2 separate regions of the Homo sapiens genome follow, and region 2 is linked to region 1. The links are contacts of gene promoters, found by promoter capture Hi-C in human tissues and cell types (Jung and others, 2019). All regions are on one chromosome and are shown on one strand. The core of a region is centred on a gene start or on the middle of the fragment in contact, and the rest is flanking DNA. Distances in the headings are between cores, read along the strand shown.

Region 1 (4,990 bases), core at 33-2,532:
TGAGCACAGGAGGGGTATCAAGATCAGGCAGAGTTGCACGTGCTCACGGCAGCAGGAGCATCTCCTGCATCTGGTGCCCCTGGCCCCAGTCCCCATTCCGTAGCTCAACTCAGCAGCACCTCCCGCTCCTGCAAAGGAGACCATGGTGAGGGCAGGAGAAGGGCATAGCCTGCTGAACGCAGGGTGTCTCTTCTCTAGGTTGTGAGGCTGAGGCTTTTTCACCCCCACTTCCTGGAAGTTCCCTCAACGGAACCTGCCAGAAATCTGCCCCTTAGGATGCTAGGGGAAAAGCTTTTGCTGGGGAAAGGCTCGCCAGAGGCATCTGCTATAAAACCGGCGAGGAGGGTGCTGCTGACCAGGGCAGGGGACAGGCGTCGGGGAAGCCCGGGGCCGCCAGCCGCAGGGCCAAGCCCTTTTCTCCTGCAACGTCTCTGGCGCCCTCTACCGACAAAGCCTAACAGCGCCAGCTGGCAAAAGAGAAATACCGAATATTTGAGCCGCCCAGATACGCTTTCGCAGAGAGCATCGGTGAATCCTGGGCAATACACTGACAACTGGAAAAAACGTTTAGAGATCCCTTAAGTGCTCCATGTTTTCCCAACATTTACCCACGGCTCGCTCTAACATCTGAAATAATAGTAATCATTTTTGAAATTATTTTGATGGAATTAAACAATTCCAGCACTTGTTAAATAGGCACATACTTAATTTGCAAAACGCCGTGCAAGAACCCGTAGCGCACCTGGAGAAAACTGTCTGGAGGCGGCTCAGGCACTCCGGGTCCAGGCAGGACGCGGGACGGGGAGGGGCCAGGCCTGGCGCCCGGGGCTGAGCCCGCTCCTGCTGCTCGGGGCGTCCACGCCCCGCGGCCTCTGGGAGGGGCCTGTGGCAGGAGGGAGGCCCGGGAGAACAGGCCCTTTCCTGGGCCACGGGGGAAACCCCTGCCCCAGGTGTGTGTCTCTCAAATGCTGCGTCGGGCCACGCGAGGATTGTTTTGTGGCTACAACAAAATTAACTATGCTTGCACAAAACTTTAGCCAATACCTCAAAGGGAAACGTAAAAGGGGAAAGACGCACTCTTACCCCACCCACTCCAAGGCAGCAGTCAGCACACCCAAGCCCTCGTGCTCCCACGCGGGTTTCACCGAGTGCCCCACTCCAGGGGGCCCGGAGAGCCGGCCCAGGTCCCGGCCCCGCCCACCCGCGCGGCCCCGCCCCCGGCCGCGAGCGTGCGCGCCCCAAGCGGAGACCCCGCCCCCGGAGCGCGTGCCCGTGCGCCGCCGCCGCCATTTTGGAGCGATCGGAGTGCCGCCCGCGGCCCCGAGTCGGTCTCGAGCCGCCGGCCGGCCGTGCCGGTGTCCGTAGGCGCTGCGCCCTCGGCCGGGCCCATGTGTGTGCGGCCCGCCCGAGGCCGCCCGGGCTTTGCCTCCACCAGCGCCCTGGCCTCCGCTCGGGCCTCCACACGGGCCTCCGAAGAGCTGCCGCGACGCCCGGCCCGCAGGGCAGGTGAGTGCGGCCGCCCGCCGCTCAGACCCGGCCCCCAGTCTGCCAGTGCCCCCCAAGTCACTTCTCCCCGAGTCAGTCAGTGCCCCCTCCAGATAGTTATCCCCCAGTCAGTCAGTTCCCCCTCCAGTCAGTTCCCCCCAGTCGGTGCCCCCGGAGTCAGTGCCCCCCCCAAGTCAGTCAGTGCCCCCTCCAGTCAGTTCCCCCCCAGTTAGTGCACCCTCTAGTCAGTTCCCCCAGTCAGTGCCCCCTCCAGTCAGTTCCCCCCCAGTCAGTTCCCCCCCAGTCAGTTTCCCCCCAGTCAGTTTCCCCCCAGTCAGTGCCCCCCAGTCAGTGCCCCCTCCAGTCAGTTCCCCCCCAGTCAGTGCCCCCTCCAGTCAGTTTCCCCCCAGTCAGTGCCCCCTCCAGTCAGTTCCCCCCCAGTCAGTGCCTCCTCCAGTCAGTTTCCCCCAGTCAGTGCCTCCTCCAGTCAGTTTCCCCCAGTCAGTGCCCCCTCCAGTCAGTTCCCCCCCCAGTCAGTGCCCCCTCTAGTCAGTTCCCCCCCAGTCAGTGCCCCCTCTAGTCAGTTCCCCCCCAGTCAGTGCCCCCTCTAGTCAGTTTCCCCCCAGTCAGTGCCTCCTCCAGTCAGTTTCCCCCAGTCAGTGCCTCCTCCAGTCAGTTTCCCCCAGTCAGTGCCTCCTCCAGTCAGTTTCCCCCAGTCAGTGCCCCCTCCAGTCAGTTCCCCCCAGTCAGTGCCCCCCCAGTCAGTTTCCCCCCAGTCAGTGCCCCCCAGTCAGTGCCCCCCAGTCAGTGCCCCCTCCAGTCAATTCCCCCCAGTCAGTGCCCCCTCCAGTCAGTTCCCCCCCCAGTCAGTGCCCCCTTCAGTCAGTTCCCCCAGTCAGTGCCCCCTCCAGTCAGTTCCCCCCCAGTCAGTGCCCCCCCAGTCAGTTTCCCCCCAGTCAGTGCCCCCCAGTCAGTGCCCCCTCCAGTCAATTCCCCCCAGTCAGTGCCCCCTCCAGTCAATTCCCCCCAGTCAGTGCCTCCTCCAGTCAGTTTCCCCCAGTCAGTGCCCCCTCCAGTCAGTTCCCCCCAGTCAGTGCCCCCCCAGTCAGTTTCCCCCCAGTCAGTGCCCCCCAGTCAGTGCCCCCTCCAGTCAATTCCCCCTAGTCAGTGCCCCCTCCAGTCAGTTCCCCCCCAGTCAGTGCCTCCTCCAGTCAGTTTCCCCCAGTCAGTGCCTCCTCCAGTCAGTTTCCCCCAGTCAGTGCCCCCTCCAGTCAGTTCCCCCCCCAGTCAGTGCCCCCTCTAGTCAGTTCCCCCCCAGTCAGTGCCCCCTCTAGTCAGTTCCCCCCCAGTCAGTGCCCCCTCTAGTCAGTTCCCCCCCAGTCAGTGCCCCCTCTAGTCAGTTCCCCCCCAGTCAGTGCCCCCTCTAGTCAGTTTCCCCCCAGTCAGTGCCTCCTCCAGTCAGTTTCCCCCAGTCAGTGCCTCCTCCAGTCAGTTTCCCCCAGTCAGTGCCTCCTCCAGTCAGTTTCCCCCAGTCAGTGCCCCCTCCAGTCAGTTCCCCCCAGTCAGTGCCCCCCCAGTCAGTTTCCCCCCAGTCAGTGCCCCCCAGTCAGTGCCCCCTCCAGTCAATTCCCCCCAGTCAGTGCCCCCTCCAGTCAGTTCCCCCCCAAGTCAGTGCCCCCTCCAGTCAGTTCCCCCAGTCAGTGCCCCCTCCAGTCAGTTCCCCCCCAGTCAGTGCCTCCTCCAGTCAGTTTCCCCCAGTCAGTGCCCCCTCCAGTCAGTTCCCCCCCCAGTCAGTGCCCCCTCCAGTCAGTTCCCCCCCCCAGTCAGTACACCCTCTAGTCAGTTCCCCCAGTCAGTGCCCCCTCCAGTCAGTTCCCCCCAGTCAGTTTCCCCCCAGTCAGTTTCCCTCCAGTCAGTGCCCCCCAGTCAGTGCCCCCTCCAGTCAGTGCCCCCTCCAGTCAGTTTCCCCCCAGTCAGTGCCCCCTCCAGTCAGTTCCCCCCAGTCAGTTTTCCCCCAGTCAGTTTCCCTCCAGTCAGTGCCCCCCAGTCAGTGCCCCCTCCAGTCAGTGCCCCCTCCAGTCAGTTTCCCCCCAGTCAGTGCCCCCTCCAGTCAGTTCCCCCCCAGTCAGTTTCCCCCCAGTCAGTTTCCCTCCAGTCAGTGCCCCCTCCAGTCAGTTCCCCCCATCAGTGCCCCCCTAGTCAGTGCCCCCTCCAGTCAGTTCCCCCCCCCCGGTCAGTTCCCCCCCCCAGTCAGTGCCCCCTCCAGTCAGTTTCCCCCCAGTCAGTGCCCCCCAAGTCAGTGCCCCCTCCAGTCAGTTCCCCCCCAGTCAGTGCCCCCCTCCAGTCAGTTCCCCCCAGTCAGTGCATCCTCTAGTCAGTTCCCCCCAGTCAGTGAACCCTCCAGTCAGTGACCCACCCAGTCAGTGCCCCCTCCAGTCAGTTCCCCCCCAGTCAGTGCCCCCCTCCAGTCAGTTCCCCCCAGTCAGTGCATCCTCTAGTCAGTTCCCCCCAGTCAGTGAACCCTCCAGTCAGTGACCCACCCAGTCAGTGCCCCCTCCAGTCAGTTCCCCCAGTCAGTTGCCCCCCAGTCAGTGCCCCCCAAGTCAGTCAGTTCCCCCTCCAGTCAGTTCCCCCAGTCAGTCAGTGCCCCCCAGTCAGTGCCCCCCCCAAGTCAGTCACTGTCCCCTCCAGTCAGTGCCCCTCCAGTAAGTTCTCCCCAGTCAGTGCATCCCCTAGTCAGTTCCCCCCAGTCAGTGCCCCCTTCAGTGTCCCCCAGTCAGTTCCCCTCAGTCAGTGCCCCCCCAGTCAGTTCCCCCCGCAATCAGTTCCCCCGTCAGTGCCCCCTCCAGTCAGTGCCCCCCAAATCAGTGCCCCCAGTCAGTGCCCACTCCAGTCAGTTCCCCTCCAGTAAGTGCCCCCCAAGTCAGTTTCCTCCCAAGTCAGGGCCCCCTCCAGTCAGTTCCCTCCCAGTCAGTCAGTGCCCCCCCAGTCAGTGCCCTCCTTCTGTTCCCCCACCCTACACCAGTCAGTGCTTCCTGCACCAGTCAGTGTCCCCTGCTAGCTAGTCATTGCACCTCACCCATCAGTCCCCACCCCACCCATCAGTGCCCCCCACCGTCAGTCAGTGCCCCTTGCAAGTCATGCTCCTCCTGTCGGTCAGTGCCTCCGCATCTGTCAGTCCGCGCACTGGTCAGTGCCTCCACTGTTGGTCAGTGCTCCCCCACCGTCAGTCCACTCTGCTCCCCATCAGTGTCCCCCAGTCAGAGTCCCGCATCCCTGTCCCCCGTCAGCCAGTGCCCCCCCAGTCAATTATTTTCTTTCTGTCATGTCCCCACTTCCCATCAGTGCCTGCACCCCCACCCGTACCCGTCAGTCACTGACCGCATAATCCCTCCCCTGCCAGTGCCCTTCCTTGTCAGTCCAAGCGCTCTGTGACCCCTTCTGTCAGCAATGTCCCCACCTGTCATTGATCTTCTCTGTCAGTGCCCCCCATCAGTGCCAGTGC
Region 2 (5,447 bases), core at 520-3,019, 82 kb after region 1:
ATGGCTAAAAGAGAAGCTCCTGTCGTCCACAGTAGAAGGCCAACCTGGCAGTTTTTGTCAAAGCCAGCGGGCAGTGCCTCTCCATCCCGCAGACGGCTTGCATGATGCTCCAGGTGGCTGAGGAGAGGAAGGGGCAGGCGGTGCTGGCAAGTAGTGCCAGTGAGCAGCCCTGGCTGTGGGTGGCGGGCTCCTCTGCGGAGAGCATGAGGCTGCTCCCCTGAGAACGAAGGGCACTGCCCTAGTGGGTCCTGTTGGCAGACGCAGCCCCCGTCTTCTGCCTGGCTCTGGGGCTCTGCTGGAATCTCCCTGCAATCTTAGTCCCAGAACTGGGCTCGAAGTGCTGTCTGGCTCAGTTCTGTCAGCGTGTGGAAGGTCTGTCCGCGTGTGGAAGGTCCGTCCGCGTGTGGAAGGTCCGTCCGCGTGTGGAAGGTCCGTCAGTGTGTGGAAGGTCCGTCCGCGTGTGGAAGGTCCGTCCGCGTGTGGAACGTCTGTCAGCGTGTGGAAGGTCCGTCCGCGTGTGGAACGTCTGTCAGCGTGTGGAAGGTCTGTCCGCGTGTGGAACGTCTGTCAGCGTGTATGAGTTCTGGGCACTGCTTTGGCTGTGAGATCCCAGTCTGCATCAGGGAAGCAATTACAAAAGAGACCTACTTTCCTTTTCCCTCTTCTTCTTTTTTTTTTTTTTTTTTTTTTTGAGATGGAGTCTCTCTCTGTCGCCAGGCTGGAGTGCAGTGGCGGGACCTTGGCTCACTGCAATCTCCGACTCCCTGGTTCAAGCGATTTTCCTGCCTCAGCCTCCCGAGTAGCTGAGATTACAGGCATGCGCCACCATGCCCAGCTAATTTTTTTTTGTATTTTTAGTAGAGACGGGGTTTCACCGTGTTGGCCAGGATGGTCTCAAACTCCTGACCTCGTGATCCACCCGCCTTGGCCTCCCAAAGTGCTGGGATTACAGGCTTGAGCCACTGCACCCAGCCCCTTTTCCTTCTTCAAAAGAATTCTGTCTTCCACTTTCTTCCTCTCTTTTATATTTACTGTGGTAAAATATCATAACATAAACTTGGCTGTTTTAACTATTTTAAGGTGTGTCACTCAGTGCATTCACAATCTTGTATAGCCATTACCATTATTCACATCTAGAAGTTTTTCATTTTCCCAAACAGAAACTCTCTCCGTTAAACACTAACTCCCCATTCATTCTCCCTCTCCACAGTCTCTGGCAACCACCATTGTCTTTGTCTCTGAATTTGACTATTCTAGGTACAGTTTATGAGTGGAATCATAAAGTATTATCTTTTTGTGACTGACTTATTTCACTTAGCACTATGTGCCCAAGGTTCATTCAGTATTGTACTGTATGTCCAAATTTCCTTCCTTTTTAAGGCTGAAAAATTACTGTGTGGGTGGGCCACATTCTGTCCATTCATCCATCCATCAGTGGAGACTTGGGTTGCTTCCAGCCTTGGCTATTGTGAATAACACTGCTGTATATGTGGGTGTACAAATACCTGTTTGAGTCCTTACTTTCAGTTCTTCTGAAAGTAAGAAGAAGTTCTTCTGGATAAATACCTATGAGGCCAGGTCATGTGACAATTCCATGATTAAGTTTTGAGGCCAGACCTTTCCACAGTGGCTGCACCATTTTATCTTCCTGTCAACAAAGTCTCCCCTTTCTCCTCATCCTCCCCCTCATCCCGCCGACACTTGTCTTCCTTCTTCTGATGCTCGTCATCTGATGTGCGTGTGGAACGGTGTCTCCGTGTGGCTGATGCTCGTCATCTGATGTGCGTGTGGAACAGTGTCTCCGTGTGACAAGTGATGTCGAGCATCTTCTCGTGCTTTTTGGCCATGTGAATAGCTTCGTTGGAGAAATGTCTATTCAAGTCCTTTGACCATTTTTGAATTGAGTTTTTTTTTTGTTTTTTTTTTTTAGTTTTAGAAGTTCTATATATATTCTGGATATTAATCCTTTATCAGATATATGCAAATATTTTCTTTGGGTTATCTTTTTACATAAAAAATTTTTTTTAGATGTAGGGTCTTGCAGTACAGTGATCATAGCTTCCTGTAACCTTGAACTCCTGGGCTCAAGTGATCCTCCCACCTCAGCCTCCTGAGTAGCTAAGACTGCAGGCATGCGCCACCACATCCAGCTAATTTTTATATTTTTTGTAGAGATGGGGTCTCGCTATGTTGATCAGGCTGGCCTTGAACTCCTGACTTCAAGTGATGCTCCGGCCGTGGCCTCCCAAAGTGCTGGAATTATAGGCGTGAGCCACCAGCCACCCAGCCTTTACTCCTTGATAATGACCTTTGACACACAAGTTTTAAATTTTGATGAAATCCAATTATCTTTTTTTCTCTGTTGCCTGTGCTTTCGGTGTCATATCCAAAAAAGTCATTGCCAAATCAGTATCATGAAGCTTTTCCTCTATGCTTCCTTCAAAAAGTTGTATGTTTTCTCTCTTATGTTTAGGTCTTTAATCCATTTTGAATTAATTTTTGTATCTGGTGTAAAGTAAGGGTCCAGCTTCATTCTTTTGCATGGGGTTATCCAGTTTTCCCAGCACTTGTTGAAAAGACTGTCCTAGGCCGGGCACGGTGGTTCACGCCTGTAAACCCAGTATTTTGGGAGGCCAAGGCAGGCAGATCACCTGAGGTCAGGAGTTTGTGACCAGCCTGGCCAATGTGGCGAAACCCCATGTCTACAAAAAATACAAAAATTAGCCAGGCATGGTGGCAGCGCCTGTAATCCCAGCTACTTGGGAGGCTGAGGCAGGAGAATCACTTGAACCTGGGAGGCGGAGGTTGCAGTGAGCCAAGATCACACCACTGCACTCCAGCCTGGGTGACAGAGCGAGATTCTGTTTCAAAAAAAAAAAAAAAAAACACCGTCCTTTCCCCCATGAATGGTCTCGGCCTAATTGTTAAAAACCAGCTGGCCGGCCGGGCGCAGTGGCTCATGCCTGTAATCCCAGCACTTTGGGAGGCTGAGGTGGGTGGATCATGAGGTCAGGAGATTGAGACCATCCTGGCCAACATAGTGAAACCCCGTCTCTGCTAAAAATATGAAAAAATTAGCTGGGTGTGGTGGCATGTGCCTGTAGTCCCAGCTACTTGGGAGGCTGAGGCAGGAGAATGGTGTGAACCCGGGAGGTGGAGCTTGCAGTGAGCCGAGATTGTGCCACTGCACTCCAGCCTGGGCAACAGAGCGAGATTCCATCTCAAAAAAAAAAAAAAAACAGCTGGTGATGTGTGCAAAGGTTTCTTTCTGGACTCTCTGTTCTGTTTCGTTGGTTTATATGTCTGTCCTTATGCCAGTGTCGCACTGTTTTGGTGACTGTAGCTTTGTAGTAAGTGATAAGTGTGAGTTTTCCAACTTTGTTCTTTTTCCAGATTGTTTTGGCTATTCAAAGTCATCCCGTGAGATTCTGTATGAATTTGGGGATGGGTTTTTCAATGTTTGCAAAATTGCTGTTCAGATTTTGGTAGGGATTGCATTGAATTTATAGATCACTTTGGGTAATACTGTCTTCTTAACAATATTAAGTCTTCAATCCATGAACACAGATGTGTTCCTATGTATTTATTTATTTATTTCTATTTTTGAGACAGAACCTCACCCTGTTGCCCAGGCTGGAGTGCAGTGGCGCAATCTCGGCTCACCGCAACCTTTGCCTCCCGGGTTCAAACAAGTCTCCTGCCTCAACCTCATGAGTACCTGGGATTACAGGTGCCCGCCACCACAAAATAATTTTTGTTTTGTTTTGTTTTTTTTGAGACCGAGTCTCGCTGTCGCCCAGGCTGGAGTGCAGTGGCGCGATCTCGGCTCACTGCAGGCTCCGCCCCCCAGGTTCACGCCATTCTCCTTCCTCAGCCTCCCAAGTAGCTGGGACTACAGGTGCCTGCTACCTCGCGTGGCTAATTTTTTGTATTTTTAGTAGAGACAGGGTTTCACCATATTAGCCAGGACGGTCTCGATCTCCTGACCTCGTGATCCGCCCACCTTGGCCTCCCAAAGTGCTGGGATTATAGGCGTGAGCCACCACGCCCAGCCAATTTTTATATTTTTAGTAGAAATGGGGTTTCACCATGTTGGCCAGGTTGGTCTCAAACTCCTGACCTCAAGTGATCTGCCCACATTGGCCTCCCAAAGTGCTGGGATTATAGGCATGAGCCACCGTGCCTGGCCCCATTTACTTTAAATAGGTCTTTAAATTCTTGTAGCAGTGTTTTGTAGTTTTCAGTGTACAAATCTTTTATCTCCTTGACTTAATTCTTCTGGATGCTGTCATATATAAAATTGTTTTCTTACTTTCCTTTTTGGATTATTCAGTGCTAGTGTATGGAAATGCAGCTGCTTTTTTGTGTGTCAATTTTGTATTCTAGAACTTTGCTGAATTCATTTATTAGCTCTAGCAATTTATCTGGAATATTTAGAATTTTCTATGTGTAAGATCATATCAGGTCAGGTGTGGTGGCTCATGTTTGTAATCCCAGCACTTTGGGAGGCCTACACAGGAGGATTGCTTGAACCCAAGAGTTTAAGACCAGCCTGGGCAACATAGTGAGACCTGGTCTCTACAAAATAAATAAGAATAAAAATTAGGCAGGTGTGGTGGCACAGATCTGTAGTCCCAGCTATTCAGGAGACTGAAGAGGGAGGATCACTTGAGTCTGGGAGGTCAGGGCTGCAGAGCCGAGATCACGCCACTGTGTGTACTTCAGCCAGGGCAACAGAGCAAGATCCTTGCTCAAAAAAAAAATACATATTCTAAAAAAAAAAATCATGTCATTTGGGAACAAAGATAATTTTACTTTTGCCTTTACCATTTGGATGCCTTTTATTTCTTTTTCTTGCCTAATTGCTCTGGCTGGGACTGCTAAGAGAAGACCGAATAGCAGTGGTGAGAGTGGGCATCCTTGCCTCGCTCCTGATCTTAGAGAAGCTTTCAGTCTTTCAGCATTGAATATGTTGTCAGCTATGGGCTTTTCATAGGTGCCTTTATCATACTGAAGATATTTCCTTCTATTCCTAGTTTGAGTGTTCTATCAAGAAAGTATGTTGAATTTTTTTTTTTTTTTGAGACAGAGTTTTGCTCTTGTTGCCCAGGCTGGAGTGCAGTGGCATGATCTTGGCTCACGGCAACCGCCGCCTCCTGGGCTCAGGCGATTCTCCTGCCTCAGCCTCCCAAGTAGCTGGGATTACAGGCGTGTGCCACCATGCCCGGCTAATTTTTGTATTTTCAGTAAAGATGGGGTTTCACCACGTTGGCCAGGCTGGTCTTGAACTCCTGACCTCAGGTGATCCACCCTCCTCGGCCTCCCAAAGTGTTGGGATTACAGGCATGAGCCACCGCACCTGGCCGTATGTGGAATTTTATCAGATTTTTTTTGTATGAGTTGAGATGATCATTTGGCTTTCGTCCTTTATCCTGTTAATGTGGTGT

What was found. Contacts are between HindIII fragments. The study calls those that stand out against the background at their distance.
Region 2: a contact is called between a fragment that was not itself captured here and the fragment with the promoter of PPP6R2 in region 1, in 2 of the 25 tissues and cell types used here (H1 embryonic stem cells and dorsolateral prefrontal cortex).

Annotation. Positions count from the first base shown.
Region 1 is chr22:50,342,045-50,347,034 of GRCh38, forward strand. It overlaps PPP6R2 (protein phosphatase 6 regulatory subunit 2), which reads left to right and starts at 1,283. Exons shown (of 24, transcript NM_001242898.2): 1 at 1,283-1,506. RefSeq lists an enhancer at 1-637 and silencers at 734-903, 1,174-1,453, 1,464-1,543. The HindIII fragment of the contact is 17,181 bases long and covers 1-4,990 here.
Region 2 is chr22:50,423,966-50,429,412 of GRCh38, forward strand. The region is part of intron 10 of PPP6R2 (protein phosphatase 6 regulatory subunit 2); the gene reads left to right. Among named protein-coding and RNA genes, the nearest start is that of MIR12114, 19 kb to the left of the region's middle. The HindIII fragment of the contact is 3,827 bases long and covers 1-3,683 here.